3 separate regions of the Homo sapiens genome follow, and regions 2 and 3 are each linked to region 1. The links are contacts of gene promoters, found by promoter capture Hi-C in blood cells and fetal thymus (Javierre and others, 2016). All regions are on one chromosome and are shown on one strand. Each heading gives the region's core, a stretch centred on a gene start or on the middle of the fragment in contact. The rest is flanking DNA. Distances are from core to core; before and after follow the strand shown. Region 1 holds the start of POLR3A (RNA polymerase III subunit A). Region 2 overlaps TMEM254-AS1 (TMEM254 antisense RNA 1). Region 3 holds the start of TSPAN14 (tetraspanin 14).

The links. Contacts are between HindIII fragments. The CHiCAGO score rates a contact against its expected background, and 5 or more counts as called.
Region 2: a fragment that was not itself captured here is called in contact with the fragment with the promoter of POLR3A in region 1 in 2 of 17 cell types (activated CD4 T cells and naive CD8 T cells); the score reaches 7.5 in activated CD4 T cells.
Region 3: the fragment with the promoter of TSPAN14 here is called in contact with the fragment with the promoter of POLR3A in region 1 in 2 of 17 cell types (naive CD8 T cells and activated CD4 T cells); the score reaches 8.2 in naive CD8 T cells.

Annotation. Positions count from the first base shown.
Region 1 is chr10:78,027,520-78,031,305 of GRCh38, forward strand. It overlaps POLR3A (RNA polymerase III subunit A), which reads right to left and starts at 1,996. Exons shown (of 31, transcript NM_007055.4): 1 at 1,845-1,996. The coding sequence starts at 1,888. RefSeq lists an enhancer at 1,916-2,165. The HindIII fragment of the contact is 13,008 bases long and covers 1-3,786 here.
Region 2 is chr10:80,073,929-80,077,692 of GRCh38, forward strand. The region is part of intron 1 of TMEM254-AS1 (TMEM254 antisense RNA 1); the gene reads right to left. Among named protein-coding and RNA genes, the nearest start is that of TMEM254, 2.9 kb to the right of the region's middle. The HindIII fragment of the contact is 3,048 bases long and covers 861-3,764 here.
Region 3 is chr10:80,452,999-80,456,806 of GRCh38, forward strand. TSPAN14 (tetraspanin 14) reads left to right here and starts at 1,312. Exons shown (of 9, transcript NM_030927.4): 1 at 1,312-1,373. RefSeq lists enhancers at 668-877, 1,621-2,138, 2,088-2,347, 2,378-2,427 and a silencer at 908-1,957. The HindIII fragment of the contact is 5,289 bases long and covers 629-3,808 here.

The DNA.
Region 1 (3,786 bases), core at 746-3,245:
GTGATGGCCCACACAATGGAAAGCTGCTAGAGGATTTTTTTTTTTCCCTGAGACAGAGTCTTGCTCTGTCACCCAGGCTGGAGTGCAGTGGTGCGATCTCAGCTCACTGCAACCTCTGCCTCCTGGGTTCAAGCGATTCTCCTGCCTCAGACTCCCAAGTAGCTGGGGTTACAGGCATACAGGCATGCGCCACCGCACCCAGCTAATTTTTGTATTTTTAGTAGAGATGAGGTTTTACCATATTGGCCAGTCTGGTCTTGAACTTCTGACCTCATGATCTGCCTGCCATGGCCTCCCAAAGTGCTGGGATTACAGACGTGAGCCACCACTCCTGGCCTCTGCTAGAGGATTTTAATTGACAATACCCTTAATTTGCACTTTGACAGAAGCACTTTCTCTGTTTTGTGAGAATGTATTATATCTGACTGGGCGCAGGTGTACAGGTGGGTGTGAAGGGCCAGTGTCGATGTAGAGCTACCACATGGGAGAATGCTGCATTCACCTAGGTAAGACACCTGTTCTAGTGAATGGCAACCATCCACACAGCTGCCCAAGCAAGGCATTCTGTATATCCGTCTCAAGGTCTCTCGACCTCTAATTCTTTCCACCATGAATCAAGAGATTTTCCAGAAGGAGAACTCTTATCAAGATACTCTCCTGTTGAAAATCCTTCAAAGGTTCCTCACTGCCTACAAGATGACTTCTTAACACAGCTTCAAGTCTTCTGCTTCCTTCTGATCACCTGTGTTCTCTCCCTCAGGTCTGCTCCTTGAAAAAAGCAGTTTGGTCTGCTTTCTTTTGCCTGGACCCATTATGTGCTCTCAAAACCCCCTGGACCTACCCTTGTCATTGCACTTGTCGTACCCAGTGTTGACTTGTGTACCTTCTCCAACTAGATTAGGCAGTAAAAGTTTTATTCAGACCGTATCTTTAACGTCCAACACTGGGAATAACGCGCAGTATCCTCCTCAGTGTCTGCTGTAAGAATGATGAATTCACTTTTTTTTTTGAGACACCGTCTCACTCTGTCACTCAGGGTGGAATGCAGGAGGTTGCCCACTGCAACCTCTGCCTCCCAGGCTCAAGTGATTTTTCGGCCTCAGCCTCCCGAGTAGCTGGGACCACAAGGGCGCGCCACCACGCCTGCTAATTTTTGTATTTTTGATAGAGACGGGGTTTCGCCACGTTGCCCAGGCTAGTCTCAAACTCCTGAGCTCAGGAGATTCACCCGCTTCGGCCTCCTAAAGTGCTGGGATTACAGGAGTAAGCCACCGCGCCCGGCTGGATTCACTTTCTTACCGAGAACTCTAAGAAGGAGCCACCGCCTAATAACGTATTTCTGAAGGCAAAAGTCCGGATAGCAGCTTTATTTCTGACACTGCCATCCGTCGGCCTGTGGTACAGCTTTCTAGTGGGCAACCCCATCCTTTTGGTAAGCAACTACTGCCTCCGTGTCAGACGCTCTGCGGCTGACAGAATTAGAGACAGTCCCCGCCCCAGATTGCTCCCCTCGCTGCAGCAGGGGATAGTTCGCTGAAGAACAGGGATCATTGTATGACTTCAGGAGAATGCGAGCTTTGGCCCAGGGTGCACAAATCATTAAGGCTCAGGCCACTCCGACTTCTCCGCCCAAGTCCAGGGACCTCTCGAGGTGCTGAAATCCCCTCAGCCTGACCAATGCTCTTTGACCAACGCTGGTAGTTCTGGGCGCTGGTCACACCTATGGACTACTGGCCCTCCCCTTCCCATTGCACCCCATCTCTGACCCTGCAAGACCCGGGACCGCTGACCTCGGACCCCTTGCCCTATTTCTCAGCCCTTTGGCCACTCTTACTCCGTCTTACATTTTCTTGGCCACATCCGTCTCCCGGAACTGCTCCTTCACCATGATGACCGCTGCCGGGACGCCTCCTTGGCACTCGGGAGGCCAGATTAGAGAAACGATGCCCCCAGCACCTCCTGGGGCTGCTTCTGGACTCGCCGCTAACACATCTGCGGCATCCTCTCGGCCACCGTAGAGTGTCCCACGTGTCCGCTTCCTCTTCCGCTACTCGCCCGCGCGTCTGTCTGTCAAGAGAGACTTCCGGCATGCCTTTTTTTTTTTTTTTTTTCCCTTTCCCCGCACCGTCACCTGGTGGCGCTTACTGGAAGCCGCACCGAGGCGTGTGCTGTATTTTAAAAATCCCATTTCTGGTCAATTTCTCCACGTAATCAGACACCCGCAGAGAAACTGCATATAACTCTTTGCCTCAAGGCTTTTAGACAAGCAGAGGGCCAAAACTTGCATAAAATGGAAAATCATCATCATTAACATCAGTACCATCTAAATTAAGAGCTTCTAATTGTTTTAAGGGAAGGTGGAAGCTAAAATGAACCGGCCCATCCAACAGAGGGCACTATCTGTGGAGGACCAACAAAGGAAAACAGAGCGGAAAATATGGGCGCACATGTGCCTCCAGTTCATGAAGTTATTTGGAGGGAGGGGGGAAGAATTAAACTTACATTATTGATTACAAAAACAGTTGAAAATCTGTTAGAGTGAAAACAGCCATGGTAATCTACAGAAGAAAAGGGAGAATGGAAAGTAAAGATCATTCATGTCTTGAAATAAGTTGTCTACAGTCTGTGAGAACTTGTGGGAGGTGATCCTAGTGTGATATATTAGTGCATGAGCCTAGCAAGGAAATCACATCACCACAGGGCTTAGCGCTTAGAATTAGAACTAAGTCCTCATTATTTGTGAGAAACTCAAAACAGAACTTAACAAAAGTGTTTAACAACTTTCAATTTTTAAGAAGGGACGCTATCTCATTTTCAGACGCCATGGATCCTCACTAGCAAAACACAATGTCACAGACAAACGAGGCATATCAGGTTTTTCTAACTCATTTCGGTACTCCATCACTTAATCATGAAATAATGTTGACTATATATATATATATATATATATATATATAGTCAACATTATGGGTTTTTTTTGTTTTTTTTTTTTTTTTTTTTTTGAGACGGAGTCTCGCTCTGTCGCCTAGACTGGAGTGCAGTGGCGAAATCTCGGCTCACCGCAACCTCCGCCTCCCGGGTTCAAGCGATTCTCCTGGCTCAGCCTCCCGAGTAGCTGGGACTACAAGCGCCCGCCACCACGCCCAGCTAATTTTTGTATTTTTAGTAGAGACGGGGTTTTACTATGTTGGCCAGGCTGGTCTCGAATCCCTGACCTCGTGATCCGCCCGCCTCAGTCTCCCAAAGTGATAGGATTACAGGTGTGAGCCACCACACCCGGCTCTGATGTTTACAATATTATACCAACAAGGGTTGGATCGTGTGTGACTTATCTAGAGGTTAAGAGCAAAAGTTATGAAATCACAGTGCCATCATGGGAGTCTAGCTTTCACCATTTAAAGTTGTGTAGGCAGCCAGGCGTGGTGGCTCACGCCTGTAATCCTAGCACTTTGGGAGGCCAAGGTGGGCGGATCACCTGAGGTCAGGAGTTCGGGACCAGCCTGGTCAACATGGTGAAACCCCATCTCTACTAAAAATACAAAAATTAGCTGGGGTTGGTGGTGTGCGCCTGTAATCCCAGGTACTCGGGAGGCTGAGGCAGGAGAATCGCTTGAAGCTGGGAGGTGGAGGTTGCAGTGAGCCGAGACCATGCCATTGCACTGCAGCCTGGGCGACAAGAGTGAAACTCCATCTCAAAAATAAAAAAAAATAAAAAATAAAGTTGTGCAGGCCGGGCGCGGTGGCTCACGCCTGTAATCTCAGCACTTTGGGAGGCCGAGGTGGGCA
Region 2 (3,764 bases), core at 1,135-3,634, 2.0 Mb after region 1:
AAACAAACAGAATTTCACTGACTCACCTTGGCTAAGGGATCAAATCAAAACCCCTCGGTTTGATACCAAATGCCATTCATGATCAGGACTCCACCTGTCTTTGCAGCCTCAACTTCCTTCACTCAATTTCTTCACATTGTTTTTTTCTAGCAACAAAAAATTTCTCCTAATTCCCTGGACACACAATATTCTATTCAAATTTCTGTAAATTTGTTTAGGTCGCCCTTCCCCCATCCTATAATCCTGGGAAGGTGTGGGAGTTTTTTGCTGTATCTCAGCACTTGTCCATCCTATAGCCACCTCATCATAACTCCCCAAGGAGGACTACTTATTAATACCTCTGTATCTCTTGATACTGCATCATTTGTGTATTTGTGTTTGGGAGTGGACAGTATTATTTAAAATATTTTTTCTGGAATAGATAACTAATTGCCCCAAAATAATTTACTGAATAATCCATTATTCCTTCCTTAATTTGAAATGTTACCTTTATTATAAAATAAACGCTTGGATATGTATATACCAGATCCATGTCTGGAGTCTGCATTATTTTTTCATTGATCCATTTGTTGATTTCTGCATGTCAAGTGCCAAATGTTTTACATTATTATAGCTCTTTACAGTGTGTCTTGATATCTAGTAGGCCAATCTTATGAGGAAAAACAATGTTATTTTTGCTTTATTTTGCGTATCCCATAGGGCCATTAAGATTGAACCATCCTTTCATTTTGCTTGGTCTCAAGTTTTCTCTTTTGAGGATGCCCAATTCATATCCTTTAATCATTTGTCAATTACATATATTGGAGAATTCCTTCTTCCAGGTATTTCAACTTTATTTACAGTGTCATTCATATGAATGAAGCTTTTCATCTGGATGCAGTTAAATTTTCAATCTTTCCTTCTATGGCTTTTAATTTTAATAACTTGCTAAAAGGTTTCCTTCCCCTCCCTCAAAAGTTGTAAAACTATTCTCCCAGACTTTCTTCATTATTTTTCATATTTAGGTCACTAATCCATCTAGACAGGGGGATAAAAATGTCCAGGGATGAGATATTTCTCTGCCAATTCAGATGGGACAGCAGTGTAGGGTGCCTGGACCTTAGAGAATTCAGTCACCCCTGCCGTGTGTGAAGGGTGACTGTAATGAAGAAAGGAATGCCTTCTGAACATCCAGTTGACTGTAAGTTCTTCATGAATTTACATAAACTACTCACATCTGAACAAAGATCTTCTGGTACTGTCTTCTGGATTCCTTATCTGTGCGTGAGGGGCTAACAGTAAGATGTTTAGTGTTGAGCTGTTGGTGGCCAGGTACAGCCTCTAACTATAATCCCAGCACTTTGGGAGGCTGAGGTGGAAGGATTACTTAAGGCTGGGAGTTTGAGATCTGCCTGGGCAACATAGTGAAGCACCGTCTCTATTAAAAAAAAAAAAAATAGTGTGGAGTTGGAAGACATAGGACACTAAGTAACAGGCTGGGCTCCAAGCAGGGTTGTAGAAGACATGAAACTAAAACCTAGCTCCCTGTAGTCTGTTGACTGAAGCCATTTTGCCTCTCCAACATTTCTTGTAGCATGAATAATTTCTCCAATATCTCCCTCGTTGCAGATTTAATACCTAAATAGAAATACTGAAAAACGGCAGCCTAAAATTGGGGAAGTTCTTGAAACTTTTGGTAAGGTAGGCTGGGTATGGTGGCTCACACCTGTAATCTCAGCACTTGGGGAAGCCAAGGCAGGTGGATCACCTGAGGTCAGGAGTTTGAGACCAGCCTGGTCAACATGGCGAAACCCCATCTCTACTAAAAATACAAAAAATTAGCTGGGTGTGGTGGCATGTGACTGTAGTCCCAGCTACTAGAGAGAGTGTGGCAGGAGAATCACTTGAACCCAGAAGGCCAAGGTTGCAGTGAGCTGAGATTGCGCCATTGCACTACAATCTGAGCAATAGAGTGAGACTCTGTCTCAAAAAAAAAAAAAAGTTTTGGTATGGTAAAGGCTTGATCAGAACTGTACTTGAAAAAGATGATCCTGTTATTTGTCAGACAGATTCAATAAAGGGACTGCATGTGGGCTGAAGTGGCAGGAAGTAGGAAGGAGTGACTGACTCATGAGACAGTGGAGATGAAGCCATGATTTAATCTAGAAGGATTAGATATTGTATTACCCAATCAGTAGAACTCTTGACAGCTGATTAGTCTGCAATCTTTATATGATATGGGGGAAGTCAAAGCAAGGAATCTGGGTACAAGGTAGAAAGAAAGTGCTGTTCACATAGAGTAGGCCGGGCGAGGTGGCTCATACTTGTAATCCCAACACTTTGGGAGGCCGAGGCAGGCAGATCACCTGAGGTCAGGAGTTCGAGACCAGCCTGGCCAACATGGTGAAACCCCGTCTCCACAATTAGCCAAGCGTGGTGGTGCACACCTGTAATCCAAGCTACTCAGGAGGCTGAGACAGGGGAATCACTTGAAGTGGGGAGGCAGAGGTTGCAGTGAGCCGAGATCGCAACACTGCACTCCAGCCTGGGCAACAAGAGCAAAACTCCATCTCAAAAAAAAAAAAAAAAAAAAAAAAAACCACAGACAGGGTAGCCTTGGTGAGGATGGACTCTGTGGATAATGATAATGGACTTCTTGTCTTTGAGGTGTGAGTAATCTTTGGTAAAGGTGACCAACTGGGAAGAGGTGAGGGCTGAAGAGATTATTTTAGTCAGCTGAAGGTGAAAATTGAATCTGATAGGTACTGAAAACACAAAGAAGATAATAAGCAAAACTTATTCTAGGAGAGAAGAAAGAAAAGGAAAGCTGAGAAAACAAGGAGTTATTCAGAAGGAGGAGAAGAATAAAGAGGGTGGTGTGATCAAGGATGATAAGGACTAAGAAAACACCAATTGTTACAATTGTTACTGTTAATCTTGATATTCAAGAGCACTGTGGTCTACCTGGGAAATGGATTTCCTCACATATTCTGAAATTCATTCTTTAAGACTTTATATCCCAAGATACTCACGTAAAAAATGAGGAAAGAGAACCTTGGTTGGTTCCAGAGTGCCCTCTCTGGAACTGGAACACTCAGCTGCCAATTGTTTTCCAGTATTCCTCACCCACTTGGGCATGACAGGACCCTGTGCTGTTTCTTCTTCTTTGAAATAAGGACAATAGTTTACTGCCTAGGATTGTTTTAAGAATTAAATTAGTTAATTATTGTATAGTACTTAGAACAATGCCTTGAACATAGTAGGTGTTCAATAAATACCAGCTACAGTATAGTAACTTTTTTTTTTTTTTTTTGACGGAGTCTCACTCTATAGCCCAAGCTGAAGTGCAGTGATTGGATCTCGGCTCACTGCAACCTCCGCCTCCGGTGCTCAAGCAATTCTCGTGCCTCAGCCTCCCAAGTAGTTGGGACTATAGACACGCGCCACCACCCCCAGCTAATTTTTTGTATTTTAGTAGAGACAGGGTTTCACCATGTTCTCCAGGGTGGTCTCGAACTCCTGAGCGATCCACCCACCTCGGCCTCCAAAAGTGCCAGGATTATAGGCTTGAGCCACTGCGCTTGGCCAGTAACCCATTTTTAAGGCCCAGGTGAAATAGTTTTTCTATTTCTATGATTTTCTATTTCTATGATTAAATAGTGTTTAATCAGACACTTCAGCTGCATATACCTCCCACAGCTCATTGATGATACAACAGTTCGCACAGGGCCTGGCACACATGCTAAAGGCTCAGCAGTATTGATAATCACCCACACTTACAAAGC
Region 3 (3,808 bases), core at 62-2,561, 2.4 Mb after region 1:
GCAAGATCTCGTCTCTACAAAAAAAAAAAAAAAAAAATTAGCTAGGTGTGGTGGCCTGCACCTGTGGTCCCAGCTACTTGGGGAAGCTGAGGCGGGAGGTCGAGGCTGCAGTGAGCCATGGTCATGCCACTGCACTCCAGCCTGGGTGACAAAGCGATACCTTAGCTCAAAAAACAACCCAAACAAACCTGGGAATGGACTGAACAGTCTCCATTTCAAGATTTCCTCCTTCCATTGGAATTAACCTGTTGGTTGCTTGTACTGGCATGTGGCAACCAGTCTTAGCCCAGTTTTAATAGATCCCTGTTTGGTGTTACTCAACAGAGAAGACCACTCGGCCCTCAGCCACCGAATAAGTTTAAGAAACAGAGGTGTGGCATGCTTCATTCTACAGGTAGGGAGGCTGAGGCTGGGGAGCCGCCCCTGGCTATCCCTGGAAACCCCTCTACCCCACAGGAATCGTCCCAGCCATCTCTTTAGCGTAAAGGTGAGGAACAAATCTCAGCCACGATCCAAAGAGGGGCGCCACCCCTGGCTGTCCCTGGAAACCCCCCTACACCACAAGAATCGTCCCAGCCACCTCTTTAGCGTAAAGGTTAGGAAGAAATCTCAGCCACGATCCAAAGAAAGCTTGGTATTTTTAGCACCAAGGCCAGAAGGAGCGTGTCCTTACTCCTTGGTTTACAAAGAAATAAAAACCTTTTCCCCATCCTTCTTTTGATTGAAGACTACCCCCGCCCCCAGGCTCCAAAGCCGGGCAGGAACGCCTCTTATCTCCACCACAGCCATTTTCCTAATCCTTCGCCCGCTCTCCACGGTCATCCCGTGTATCCCTCGAGACGCCGCCTCCCACAGCTCGTGCTTCTCCCAGGTTCGGCTCCGACAAGGCCAGAGCGGCGTCTGCGCAGCGCAACGGCTCAGAGCGCTCCCGGCGGCTACAAGTGCCCGGCCCCGGGCCAGGCCCGGCCTGCGCCGCGCACCCACTGGGAGGGCGCGGACCGGGGCCGCCCCAAGCCTCCGGCACCGCCCAGAGCGGGACAAAGGGGCGGGCCGGCGACCCGGCCTCGCGGTCCCCGGTGCCGCGCGGGCCGGGAGGCGGGGTGCGGTGGGGGAGGGGCGAGGCGGCTGGGGGAGGGGCGGGGCCAGGGCGGGCCCAGGCGCCCGGGGCCGCACCGGGCGGCGCAGGGAAGCGGCGCCCCTTCCTCGGCAGACGGCAGGCGCCGCGCCTCCGGCCCCGCCCCTCCGCGCCCCTCCGCGCCCCGCCCCCGCCGCTCGGACGGCCCGAGTCGCGCCCTCCCGCCCCGCGCCGCGGAACTTGCTCTAACTTCCTCGGCCGAGCCGGGCCGCGCCGCCGCTGCCGCCGCCGCGCGCGGGTGAGTAGAGCGCGGAGACCTGGCTGGGGCGTCGGGCCCTGCCCCTTTCTTTGTCTGAGGCCGACTTCCCCGAGCGTTCTCCGGGGGCGAGGGCTGCTCCTTAGGTCCCTGTTTGGCCCCTCAGCCTCCCTCCCCGCCTGCCCAGGAGCGGCCCCGCGGGCGGCGCTGGCTTTGTCTGCCAGGATTGCTCGCTAGAGGTTGGAGGCCTCCGCCGGGACCCCGCTGAGCCGAACTCCGGCGCCGCGCGGACGAGAGCCGCGGCGGGCCCGGGGCCGGCACTCCTGGTTCGGTAGCCCTCGCCCCATCAGCGCGCCCCGGCGAGTGCGCGCCCGTGCCGGGCGGGGTGAGGGCGACGGGAGCCTGGACGGCCGCTGCTGCTCGGGGCTCTGCTTCTCGTCCCCAGCAGCGAGCTCGGGGATGGGCCACCCTTTCGGCTCAGTCACCCACCCTCGGCTCCCAGGAGATCGGGTCCGGGGTGGGGGTGGGCGTAGGCCGGGGCGGGCCGCCCCTTCCTCCTGCCCCGCCGTGGTTGTGCTCAGTCTCCCACGCCGCCGTGGGTCCCACTCTGCCCGGCTTGGGTTTGGGACGGCCGGAGTTTGAGTAGGCGGTGACCCAGCTTCTCCGCGTTAGTCGTGTGGGGTTGTGTTTGGGAGCAAAGCCTGACCCCTGACCTAGCCGGAGTTCTGGTAGAGTGAGGTTTGTGGCTGCGGACTGTGCTTGTCCCGGGCCGCTGCTGCTTCTCCTCCACCCCCAGGGGTGGGGTGCGGGTGGGTAGGAAGTGCCTGTGTGAGGGTGTGTGGAGGGACTTTGGCCCTGGGACCGCAGGAGCACTTGTCTTGGGGACTTAAAGTTGATCTCCGGCGAGAAACAGTCCGTGCTAGGGGGAGTCGGGGGAAGTCGTGGGCCCGGGTACTGGCCTGGGGCTGGGCGCAGAGCGGTGGTGAGTGCGGCGGTGTCACACACTCGTTGGCTGTGCTGGCGCTGCTATCCGGGAGGTCAGGCGGTGCTGGGCGGCTGTGCAGAGCATTGTATTGGAGCCTCTGCAGGTGTGCTCTTGGCAGTGGTCTGCTCTCCAGGGGATCTTCCTCCCTTCCGAGAGGGAGTTGCTCTTGGGCTAGTGAGAGAGTGGCCTGCCAAATCCTCAAAAGTAGCCTTCCCCTTGCCCCTTGACCTTGAAGTCCAGAAGCAGTTAGTGCCTGCTGAGTGCTCCGGCCACCCTTCTCTATTTGTGAAGGGAAACCTGGGGACAGGCCATCGGAGCACCCCTATGTCCTTGCCACATTTCAGCTAGCCGAGTGGTTGGTGGGGGCGGCCGTCTTTCCAGGGATCTTCCTGGGCCCTGGCACCCCCAGAATGAAGCCCAGACTCCACCATAATGGCCCTGTATGCCCTTCTATCCCCTTAGCTGCTGGTGTGATCATAGCCTCAAATTGCTGGGCTCAAGTGATCCTCCCACCTCAGCCTCCCAAAGCACAGGGATTACAGGTGTGAGCCACCACGCGCAGTCTGATCCCACTCCGATCCCTAACGTTATAGTGACAGGCCCTGGAAACCCAGGGCCACCAGATGTATTTTCCCTTTCCTTCTCATTGTGTTGCACCCCAACTTCAGTTGGAGACTCTGGATATATCCATCCCCACATCTCTGAACTCCACTGCTTGGGCCACCTAATGTCATCCTCAGTTTAGTTAACAAAGCATGGTTGAGATTTCTGTGGGGTGCGAGGCATTGTTGCAGGCACTATTCCAAGTCTGGAAAGTCCCTCACCAGCTATGAACTTGGTGTGGTCTTAGAACCCAGGCTGGACATGGCATAGGTGCTCAGTAGTGTTTATTGATCTGAGCTTGATCTCAGCGTAGCAGGATCATTTAGGGAGACGGGGTTGTGGGGGGGGTCTGAGCCCATGGGTGCTTCTGAAGGTTTGTGGCTGCCCCAGGAAGAAAGGGCATGGAGCTGCAGAATGGTTGGCTGCCCAGGGAATTGTCCCCTTCACCAGCTGGGCAGCTGTGCTAGTCTCTGAGGACTGGTGAAGGTCCTTCTCATGTAGGAAGTGGCAGTATGAAGTGGGAGAGGAGATGGCTCTGCCCTGAAGGTTGTGGCGGCAGTGAAGTGAAGTTCCCATGGAGGCCGGGGAGCAGGAAAGCCCTGGGTTCTGGAACTATTTCCTGAGGCCTCACTCTATGCCACCATGTGCTCAGGAATTTGACCCATTTAACTTCAACTGAGGTAGAATTCCTTTTAGCAGTGCCTGCAAAGTGGCATTGTGCCAGGCCTGGGAAACCTTTGCTGGCTTAAAATTTAGTGAAGGACAAGATTATTTCATAGTGATACTAATGTGAGTTTATTGAGACTTACACCCTAGAAGTTTGACTTGTAATAACTCATTTAATCCTTGAAAACAGCTGTGATGGCTGGGCGTGATGGCTCATGCCTGT